2 separate regions of the Homo sapiens genome follow, and region 2 is linked to region 1. Evidence: promoter capture Hi-C in 16 types of primary human blood cells and fetal thymus (Javierre and others, 2016). All regions are on one chromosome and are shown on one strand. The core of a region is centred on a gene start or on the middle of the fragment in contact, and the rest is flanking DNA. Distances in the headings are between cores, read along the strand shown. Region 1 holds the start of SLC30A7 (solute carrier family 30 member 7). Region 2 has its middle 130 kb from the start of PLPPR5-AS1.

The links. Contacts are between HindIII fragments. The CHiCAGO score rates a contact against its expected background, and 5 or more counts as called.
Region 2: a contact is called between a fragment that was not itself captured here and the fragment with the promoter of SLC30A7 in region 1, in 2 of 17 cell types (total CD4 T cells and total CD8 T cells). The highest score is 9.4, in total CD4 T cells.

The regions. Positions count from the first base shown.
Region 1 is chr1:100,894,074-100,899,066 of GRCh38, forward strand. SLC30A7 (solute carrier family 30 member 7) reads left to right here and starts at 2,017. Exons shown (of 11, transcript NM_133496.5): 1 at 2,017-2,269; 2 at 2,497-2,598. The coding sequence starts at 2,190. It overlaps EXTL2 (exostosin like glycosyltransferase 2), which reads right to left and starts at 769. Exons shown (of 5, transcript NM_001033025.3): 1 at 560-769. RefSeq lists enhancers at 101-824, 825-1,547, 1,442-1,511, 2,062-2,311, 2,362-2,521. The HindIII fragment of the contact is 2,158 bases long and covers 1,269-3,426 here.
Region 2 is chr1:98,867,423-98,872,415 of GRCh38, forward strand. No RefSeq gene overlaps it. Among named protein-coding and RNA genes, the nearest start is that of PLPPR5-AS1, 130 kb to the right of the region's middle. RefSeq lists an enhancer at 4,151-4,270. The HindIII fragment of the contact is 1,497 bases long and covers 1,442-2,938 here.

The sequences.
Region 1 (4,993 bases), core at 767-3,266:
AAGTTCAAAATGCAGCTGACCTTGATGAGTTAGGATTATGCTGGAAATCAGTTGCTGAAATTTAATTATTTCTATTACTTCTCCCGCCTTCTCCCAAGTTAAATCATATTGAATAAGGGCGTTTTGGAGAAAAATCCAATTACCATAGAATTATTTATCTTTAAACTATCTAGTTTGCACCCAATTAATTTTTCCTCAGCAGTGCAGTAGAGTAAAATTCAAGGTCTACTGCTAATACAAAAACTTCCTTCCAAAAAAAGAGTAAATGCTACTAATTTTAAATATTTCTACACTTAAATTAAAAGAATGAAATATACGCTAACAAAGGCAAATACAAAATACTCTTCCCAGAACTTACTTCTGAAACCTAGCTGTTTTTACACAGCAGTTTTAATTAACATTTTTCAAAATTGTAGAATAAGTACATATTTTCAAAAATAAAACCACCGAATACTCCATACACACACACAAAGTTCTCAGAACGAGAGCAAAACATGCATATATCCTCACTACAAAAAGAAAAATACTAATACTGGAGCATTTTGCTGTGTCTCCTTACCTCGAGTGCAGTAGATTGCAGTAGGGCCAGCCGATTTATTTCCCTGCAGCTTAGTTATCATAAAACGGAAGGGGCGTCTCGTTTGCTCATTTTTGTTTTTTTTTCTAAACCAAGTAGCGTGCATCTATCCTTCTCCATTAGCTGGATTAACAACCTGGAAAAAGTGCCGCCCGCAAAGTGAGCGCCTGGAGCAAGGGACAGTCCCCGAGTGGCCGCCCCTCCCTTTCGGTGACGCTCCACTTCCTGTCGGCCTAAAAGGCATTCCCAGGAAGCTCGGTTTTGTAGTTTCCAGCCCACCTCCGAAAGCCAATCCTTTCCTCCATTTCTTCTCCAAGGTAACAACTTTTAAACATTCACGTGACGGACCACCTTCCCTCAGCCAAACAACTTCCCTGAAAGGCGCCCGAAGGAGCCTTCCCATCCACCGCGGGTGCCCAGGAAAGGCCTGTGGGGCTCTCCTCCCCGCGCTCCACACGCCCTCGCATCCCACCGAGGGGCCAGCTTCTGCCTGCACGTTGCTGAAACTGGCCTGGAGGTTCTGACAAGAATTAGAGCGGCGGCCGTTGCCCCGGGGATGACCTGGAAGCGAAAGAGACCGGCACGAATTCTAGAGTTTCGGGGTTTCCGCGGGTTGAGATTGTACGGGAAACAATGCATTAACCAAACCTAAAAATCAAACAAACACGTCTGGTAGAACCTACCATTAAAAAGCTTCTTTCCTATACTACGTTTAACAGCCTTTATTTTGAAAGACATTGATTGATGCCAGGCATGGTGGCGCACGCCTGAGGTCTCAGCTACTCCGGAGGCTGAGGAGGATCACTTGCGTCCGGGAGTTCCAGGCTGTAGTGAGCCTCATTGTGCTCCAGCCTAGGTGACAGGGCGAGACCTTGTCTCTTAAAAAAATAAAGAAAGAAAAACATTGATCGCCTCCTGCGTGGCAGTCCAGAAGGGTCAAGCGCTGTTTTCGGGGTGGCGTGGAATGGATTCCTAAGATTTGGGCGCCCATAGAGTTAACGCAGCAAAACGATCACTTGCGTTTCCTGCGGACTGGCGGCAATAGAACACGTGGCTGCCTAGACTCTTAATCACTGATATCTACCACACCAGGATTTAATGCCAGTTGGGAGGAAATGGCGAAAGGGCAGGCGCTGGAGCCCATGCATCCGGGAACACTGGTGGTAGGCGGTCGGGTGGGCGTGAGCGGGCTCTCCATCTCCCAGCCCAGTCTGCAGGTCGCCACCTCAGGATTTTCTTCCTGAGTCCGGGTGGCAGGATTCCATCCCAGGTCAGCCCCTCACACCCCCTGGTAGTTGCCACCTCCTGGCGTCCCTCCAACAGCTCCAGCACCTTTCTCATCCCGCCCCCGCCGCAAGCCACGCCCTCCGCCGCGCAGGCCCCGCCCGCGACCGGCCTCCCTCCTTTCCTGTCCCAGGACGCGTTGCGCGGCCCGGGCCGGAAGTAAGCGAATTCCCGGGTGTGTGTCTGTGTCTGTCTGTGTCTCGCAGCGGCGCGCGGCCCCGGACAAGCGCTGGGGATTCCCGTTTGAGGCGTCACTACTGTCACTGCCATCACCCCACGGAGCCACTTCTAGAGGGGAGTAGACCCGGCCCTTCGCCGGGCAGAGAAGATGTTGCCCCTGTCCATCAAAGACGATGAATACAAACCACCCAAGTTCAATTTGTTCGGCAAGATCTCGGGCTGGTTTAGGTGCGGGGTGCTGTGTTTGCGGGGAGGGGGTGTCCGGCAGAAAGGGAGAAGGCCCAGACCTCAGGATGGCCCGAGGTCCAGTGAGGGAGAGTCAAAAACTCCCCGTCAACCCCTAGCTGTGAAGAAAGGAGCATGTGAACTGGGAGGGTCTTGAAGAGGGTACCCAGCCTCGGGGTCCCGGCACCTCCTTAACTCTCCCGGCTCTTTTCCACGTGTATCATTCCCAGGTCTATACTGTCCGACAAGACTTCCCGGAACCTGTTTTTCTTCCTGTGCCTGAACCTCTCTTTCGCTTTTGTGGAACTACTCTACGGCATCTGGAGCAACTGGTAACCAAAGGGGAAAATGGTTTGGGCGGAAGCTGGGTGTGAGGGAGACGAAGCACTGTTTGCTTAATGCCACGTAGCTCCTCACTAGGAGGTTCAGGTCCTACCTTTGTTACCTACCTCTGCTGCTGAGTTGCTTTCTCATACCCACACCAATCTGGTAGGGCTACAGTTCTTGAGTAAGATCTGGGCCTATCCTGTGCAACCTCTCTTGTCACGCTCCCCTCCAGTTCCATCAGACAAGACTGACAAGCCCCTCCTTATTTTAGCAGATGGGCAGAATCTTTCATTTCTAATTGTAGGCCTTAGGTTTACCCACTTTGTTGGAATTGGGAGAAACTTGTTTGCTGCCTCTCTCGGGGGGGAGTGGCATTTGGATTTCACCCTTAAGATTCTGAGAGAGTATATCTGAGATGTTCTACTTAGTTTGTTATTGGGGCTTGGAATGGGAGGTTTTATAAAGTGATATCGGGAGGAATATGTGTCATTCTCTTCTCTCTTTAATGCCGAAACTGTCTCATGATTTTCCTGTAGTCTTAACTGCGATGTAAAAATCCCATATAGTTTCTAGAAACAACATTTCTTGGGTTTTGGTGGCACCTTTGAGGGTTTTTGTTTTTTTTGAAACATCCTTAGGAGGAGGAAAATCTAGTGTGTAACTCTGTGGCAGTGAAGTTACTATTATTCAGGTATTTGCTGTTGAGTAACTTAAGGTCTTATGAAGTTGTTCTGCTAACAAGACTGTCACACTCCTAGGTGTACTAATTCTGTCTTTAGATCCCATACTCCTTCAAAAATCTGATGAAAGCCAATACTCAGAATTGTACATAAAGCTTCAGGATGTTGTTGGGTTCCCTGTACTAAATCTTGGACTCTAGATTAAGAACCTGTTTTCTATTTATTAAATAGACTTAGTCTCTGTTGTTTAAGACCCATTTTCAGAGAAAATCGCTGTCCTTGATCTTCTGTTGAGATCAAACATTGACAGGTAATATCACCAGGTTTTGTGACATGTATACTTTTATATAATGCTTGGGCTTCTTTCAATTCAACCGTCAATTCAGTTCTATAAAAAATACTCAATAACCAGCAGATTATGAAGGTTATTGGTTTAGTCAACAGTTGGGTATAAAGGCATATTGGCACAATGAAATCTTAATATATGTAATAACCATTTTGAATCCTTTGGGAATCAGATGTGTTAATTTGAAGGATACCCCATCATAGATTAATTTTTTAATCCCATAGTATTAACACACTTTAATATACTGTAGATGTTGAAAGCACTTGTACTTGAATAATCATACTTTATCATAAATATATAATATTTACAGTATATTTTACATTTTTCTCTTCCTAAATTATGCCAAATTAATTTTGGGATATGTGCTGATTGTATCAGGAGTGTATCATAGCTTATATATGCATATTTTGTATCAAGAGTGTATCATAGCTTGTATATGCATATTTTGTATCAAGAGTGTATCATAGCTTATATATGCATATTTTGCTACAGATAGTTTCTATTGCAGTGTTTCACTATGGCTTTCCATTACATAAGTCACTCTGTGAAATATCTCATTCAAGAGATTCACACTTGAAGTTCCTAAACCACCTTTCATGGAAAGTTAAGTATATAGTAACTCTTTTGATCTGTAGAGATCTGTTGGGGAGATTACCAGAACCATTATTTTTTAAGTCAGTATGCATCAGTGCATAACAAAAACATTAGTTGTAGTCGACTTGTTCTTTTACCCTTAGGGGACTTGCTTTTCTTTACTAGTGCAGCTTATATACTGTTTTTCATTGTGTTATGTCTTCTAGCTAGATTTGAAATCTAGCTCCAGTGCATGTTGTACTTAGTTCATTTAGCACGTATCCGTCATCTCATGCCTATTTATGTTAATCTCCAGATCTACAACCAATTATTCTTAAATATTAATTTTTAATACAGATCTCTTGTCATTGATATTTGGGCAGATTTAGGCATTTCTCTGGCCTTTTAATAATCTGGCTTTCTGTGTTTTATTTAGACACCAAAATTTTTAGTTCCTTTTGTTGACTGATCAATAATTTCTTTATATGACCAGAAGATTATCTGTGTTCCTGTAGGTTATATTAGCTTTTCAGTTCCTTGATTAAATTTCTTCCAAAACTCATTTTGTGTATTAGTCAATTCCTTGTTGAATTTCATTCTGTAAAAATAAATTTCAACTTGTTGAGAACATGAAATAACCAAGAATTTTTTTCCTATAGAGGACTGAAACGTGAATAAAACACTCACTTCACAAATAAAGGTTCATAGAAGCAGTTGATCTAATTTTAACAAATGTTAAATTGTTCTGGTTCTTTTTCAGAGCCTTCATTTTAAAGGAAGAACTTAATTATAGTTGATTTA
Region 2 (4,993 bases), core at 940-3,439, 2.0 Mb before region 1:
TCTATTAGTCTGTTTTCATGCTGCTGATAAAGACATACCTGAGACTGGGCAATTTATAAAGAAAAAGAGGTTTAATGGACTCACAGTTCCATGTGACTGGGGAGGTCTCATAATCATGGTGGGAGGCAAAAGGCACATTTTACATGGCAGCAAGCAAGACAGAATGAGAGCCAAGCAAAAGGGGAAGCCCTTTATAAAACCATCAGATCTTATGATACTTATTCACTGCCATGAGAACAGTATGGGGAAAACTGCCCCATGATTTAATTATCTCCCACTGGGTGCCTCCCACAACATGTAGGAATTATGGGAGCTACAAATCAAGATGAGATTTGGGTGGGGACACAGCCAAACCATGTCACATAATTTTTGTCCTTAATTTTTTTATGCCATGAGTCACATAAATTGATTTGCATATATCAAACCATGTATTTATAGTATTCAATAAATTATATGAGATAGTCACTATTATAAAATAGGCTTTGTGTTAGATGATTTTGCCCAACAAGAGGCTAATGTTCTGAGCTCATTTAGGGTAGGCTAGGCCAAGCTATAATGTTGGGTGGGTTGAGTGTACTAAAGTGCATTTTTGACTTCAATATTTTTAACTTACTATGAATTTATTGAGCTGTAACCCCATCATAAATCGAGGAGCATCTGCATATGTGTTCCAAATATTTTCTTGCAGGCTCTGGATTTCCTCTTCATTTTCTTAATAGTATATTTCAAAGAAGAAACTAAGGCCAAGGCAGGTAATTTGACTTGCTTAAAATTTCCCAGCTAAAAATATCAGATATGGAATTTGAACTCAATTCTTTTTGTTTTCCAAATCCTACCTCTTAGTCCTTATGCTTTATTACTAAAGAGTCATGAAATTATTTATTTATATGAAAATATTTTAATAAATGCCTCCTATTTTGTAGTTTCAGCACTAGAGTAGTGGTTCTATATAAATGAACACATGGTCCCCATCTACTTTAAGATCCCAAGCAAATATAAGGAAAAATAAAAAATCTAAAAAGATATGTTGAATGCTATCATAAAAGTAAATAGCACAGGTAAGGAAAACAATACTATCTGGAATTGTTGAGGAAATGGTCAAATAGAATTGCTGTTTGGTCAGTGTTCAAAAGATACAATGGGTATGGATAGCTGAAAAGAATAGTGTAAACATGGTAAAGCCAGAGAGGTGTGAAAGCAAGTGGTCTCTGCAGAATTGGGACTAAATATTAGATTGTTTGAGAAAGTGGCAAAAAGCACCATTTTAAATATTTTGTTCTTATAATATCACATGCTTTGATACATAGATGTTATCCTACAGATAAGTAACTATGAATATTATCTGATTATGATAGAAACATAGATTTTAAATAGTTATTTGGGCATATGTTTGAATGACTGGCAAAATGAGCATGAGACTTGTGGTCAGGAAACAATTGAAAGCTTATTGTAATAGAAGAAGAGAAATTAAACTGACAGGAATTAATCAGGGGAAAAGGAAGGGCTGAATTTTAATGAATAATCAATAGTTCAGGTATGGAATATATATCATCCTCTTCAAGTACAATGAATGGGCCAAATTGAACATAGTTTATTACATTACTAGCTATGAAAAACCCTGAAGGGAAAAAGTACCCAACACTTCACATATTAGGTAATTGGGAATCATTATGATTTTATAACATGGCTGGGCCATAGCATTGGCTCAAATGCCAACAAGCTGAAAAGAAGGCAAGAAGGTCTGTAATAAGGAACCAACACAGAAAACTCATATATGTATATAAAATCAGTGTATGACCCAGACGAAAGGCAAGGTCATTCTAATATTCTACAGTATTGCCAATAGCCAGGACTGTCTTAGGCATTTACATGAGCTGGGTGAAACTGCTGTAATCACTATTAAACGAGGGTGCTGCATGATATGTTGCTTGCCCCACACAGTCTGGTAGACTAATGTGTCCTAACACAGCTAGTCAAAGGTCTTAGAGAGCCAAAGTCTGCATATGTCTTGAGAAAAGTAACCAGAGTATCATTATTTTAGAATTGAAAAACAACTGATAGCATGTTGCACTGGATACATAGACCTAACTTGTGTATCCTCAAGTGGTTTATAAAAATCAATCCAACTGAAGACTATAATTTTCTCATACAATCCAGATTTCTGGATTCTCTTGAAATATTAGATGATCCGGTGGTGGAGGGTCTTAATTCTGGTATCACAACAATTGACAGGAGCTACACATAGCAACCTCCACCACTCTGTGTGGGTACATACCCCTCATTCATACAATGAAAAACATTTTCACAAAAAGACCAAGGTATCACTCATTATTGTTATCTTCCTGGTCTTGTAAGCATTTGCTTTCACAGTCTCTGATATAAGGTGCAAGTGAAATCTCAAGTGCCAGAGTAATTCATAGCTGGATCCAATAGAGAAGAAACAACAGGACTCCTAAAGGATGAGTAAAGAAGTTGGAATTGCTTATTTTGAAAGATATAATAAGAAGTTTTGAGAAATATCATCAGCATGAAGGCTGACACCTGGAAAAATCTCAACTGCATTAAATTAAGTAGGCTTTCTGATGAGGTCCTACCTAAGGGAAAATTACCAAGTGGCCAAATTTTACTTAGTGTCTAAAAAGCCGCCTTTCCCTTTGCCCCTTTCTTTCTCTTCAACATTAAGTTATACCATCATATTTTCTGGTCTTTATGTAAAATGTGCATATATTTGTATATAATATATGTATTATACATATACATTGATAAAGTATCTTCTAAAATTTTCTCAGTAGCTAAGAAGAATGGGATTCTATAATTATCTCTGGCTTTAATTATGGGGTACTGTCAAAGGCTTGGGTTTTAGATTCATTTATTCTTTCAACAAATATTTATTTAGTTCCTAAGGATCTAGTCATGGTCAAGGTTCTTTTTTTCTTGAAGCTTAAATTCTAGTAAGGGAACATATGTAATAAATAATAATAATACAAGTAAATATTTCTGCATATTGATAAGAGTTATGAAGAATAAATGAGTTGTTGGGTTGGAGAGTGACCAATGGCTGTAAACAGTGGCCACTTTCTGTGTAGCAAATTTCCCAGTGGGGATATTGTGGTTGGTTTTAAAAATTACTTAAAACGGAGTGCCACCCAGCCACCTAGCTAGGACTTTACTGTTTGACTATTTCATATTCACTATATGTAAGGGTCATCCCAGCAGTTATAATCTGCCATGTGTTGCTATACAAAGATTTACAGGATTCAGCATATTTAACTACCTAATTGGAAGCACTCCTTGCATCTAATGAGCATTTTTTTCTTGACACTTTTTTCCCCACTTATCAGATAAGCCAGCATTTTCTTAAATGTCTAAGGTGTGCTAAGGCCGAAAGGTTATTTTTAAAGCAATGAGTCTATAAATTACTAAGTTTTGTGGTGGAGGAAATAGAAGAAAAAATATATTTTGGAAGGGAATGAAGTATGGTAATCACTCCAAGCAGGCTTAATTATGGAGAAACTAAGAGGTGGGCATGTGGGAGGAGACTTGAAACTTAATTTAGTCTCGTCCATAATTTTGTCTGAGTTCAGCTGTCAATACACTTACGATATCCTGGCTTTGAGGCGCTCTGTCTCTAGGATTAATTTTTTTCCTTCCAGAGAAGACATAATGTCATTAGAGTAAATCATGACTTCTCATATAATTGCTCATCTGCTGATAAGGAAGATAGGTCCACCTGATTCCAGCCTGAGCCAATCGTGCCTTCCCTATCCACTGAGTTGCTGAGTTAAGCCTGATTCTGAAGCTGCATACAGGTGTTATCAGTGCCCTTTGTTCTTGTAATGTCTCAAGAAAGATGACAATAGAAATCAAGAGAGATCACTAGATATAGCAGCATAGAGAAAGAGAAAGCATTATTTTAGCTTGTGCACAAGGAAGTCGGCACCACAAAAGGAAAAGGGCAGGCTGCTCCTGGAGGGTAGTATGTGGATTTGTTTTATGCGGACTTTCTATAGGGAAGGATTTCATCAGGGCATGTATAGGAGGGTTTTTTCTAGCACTTGTGCAATGGCTCTACATGTTTCTTCATACACCACATGTAATATTACCGTTTTAAATCTCCACTACTGGCTGTGTGACTTTTAGTATTAAAATGAGGGGGAGGGGCAATTATAAGTTAAAGTTTAAGGCTACCTGCACATGTGGAGCCGAAGGGAAGTCCCTATCCCCCTAAAGCAGGAACTTGTGGTTAATAGCTTCTTGGGTTTTTTGTTGCTGATTGGCTGGAAGTTAGGTAAGCTACAGTTTGAGTAAAGGGCTTTTGATCTTTTCTCTAAACCACATGAAAACAGGAAATGAGCCTGTCTGCCTATCTGGCCTACTCAGTGAGAATGGATTCAGTGATAGATTAACAATGTCTGCCATAAAATCAGAAATAAAAACAAAACCACGAGGGCTTGGGACATAGAGTTGTGGCAAAATGAACTAAGAATGATTTATCAAAATGCTACCCTTTGGAGCTTCTTGACTTATGTATAAGGCAGGAATAGTAGAGCTAAGCAGGTTCCCAGACCAATTTCCCAGGATACTTGGTAGATCTTGGAATAAGCCTTTCATGTTGAAAAACAAATAGGACTGAGAATTGGCTGCCCTGGGACGGGAAGGGCCCTGTACTCAAATTTGTCTCACTCCAAACCTGTCGGAAGTCAAAAATCCATGCTTGAAAGAACAAGTTTTCAGGGTGTGTAGAGGGTTAATTAACTCATCCATTGTTTTCAGTGTAGGGAGATGGAAATCACACAAATAGCATCCTATTTAGGGCTGTGCTAGAAATGAATTGCAGCCTGGCAGCAAGCCCTGTTCCTTTAAGGGAGACATGAGCCTTGTTTCCCTTTATTATTCTTAATTTTTCATCAACTCTCTCAACAATGTCTAGTTTTTAATTTTATTTATTTATTTATTTATTTGAGACTGAGTCTCTCTCTGTCGCCCAGGCTGG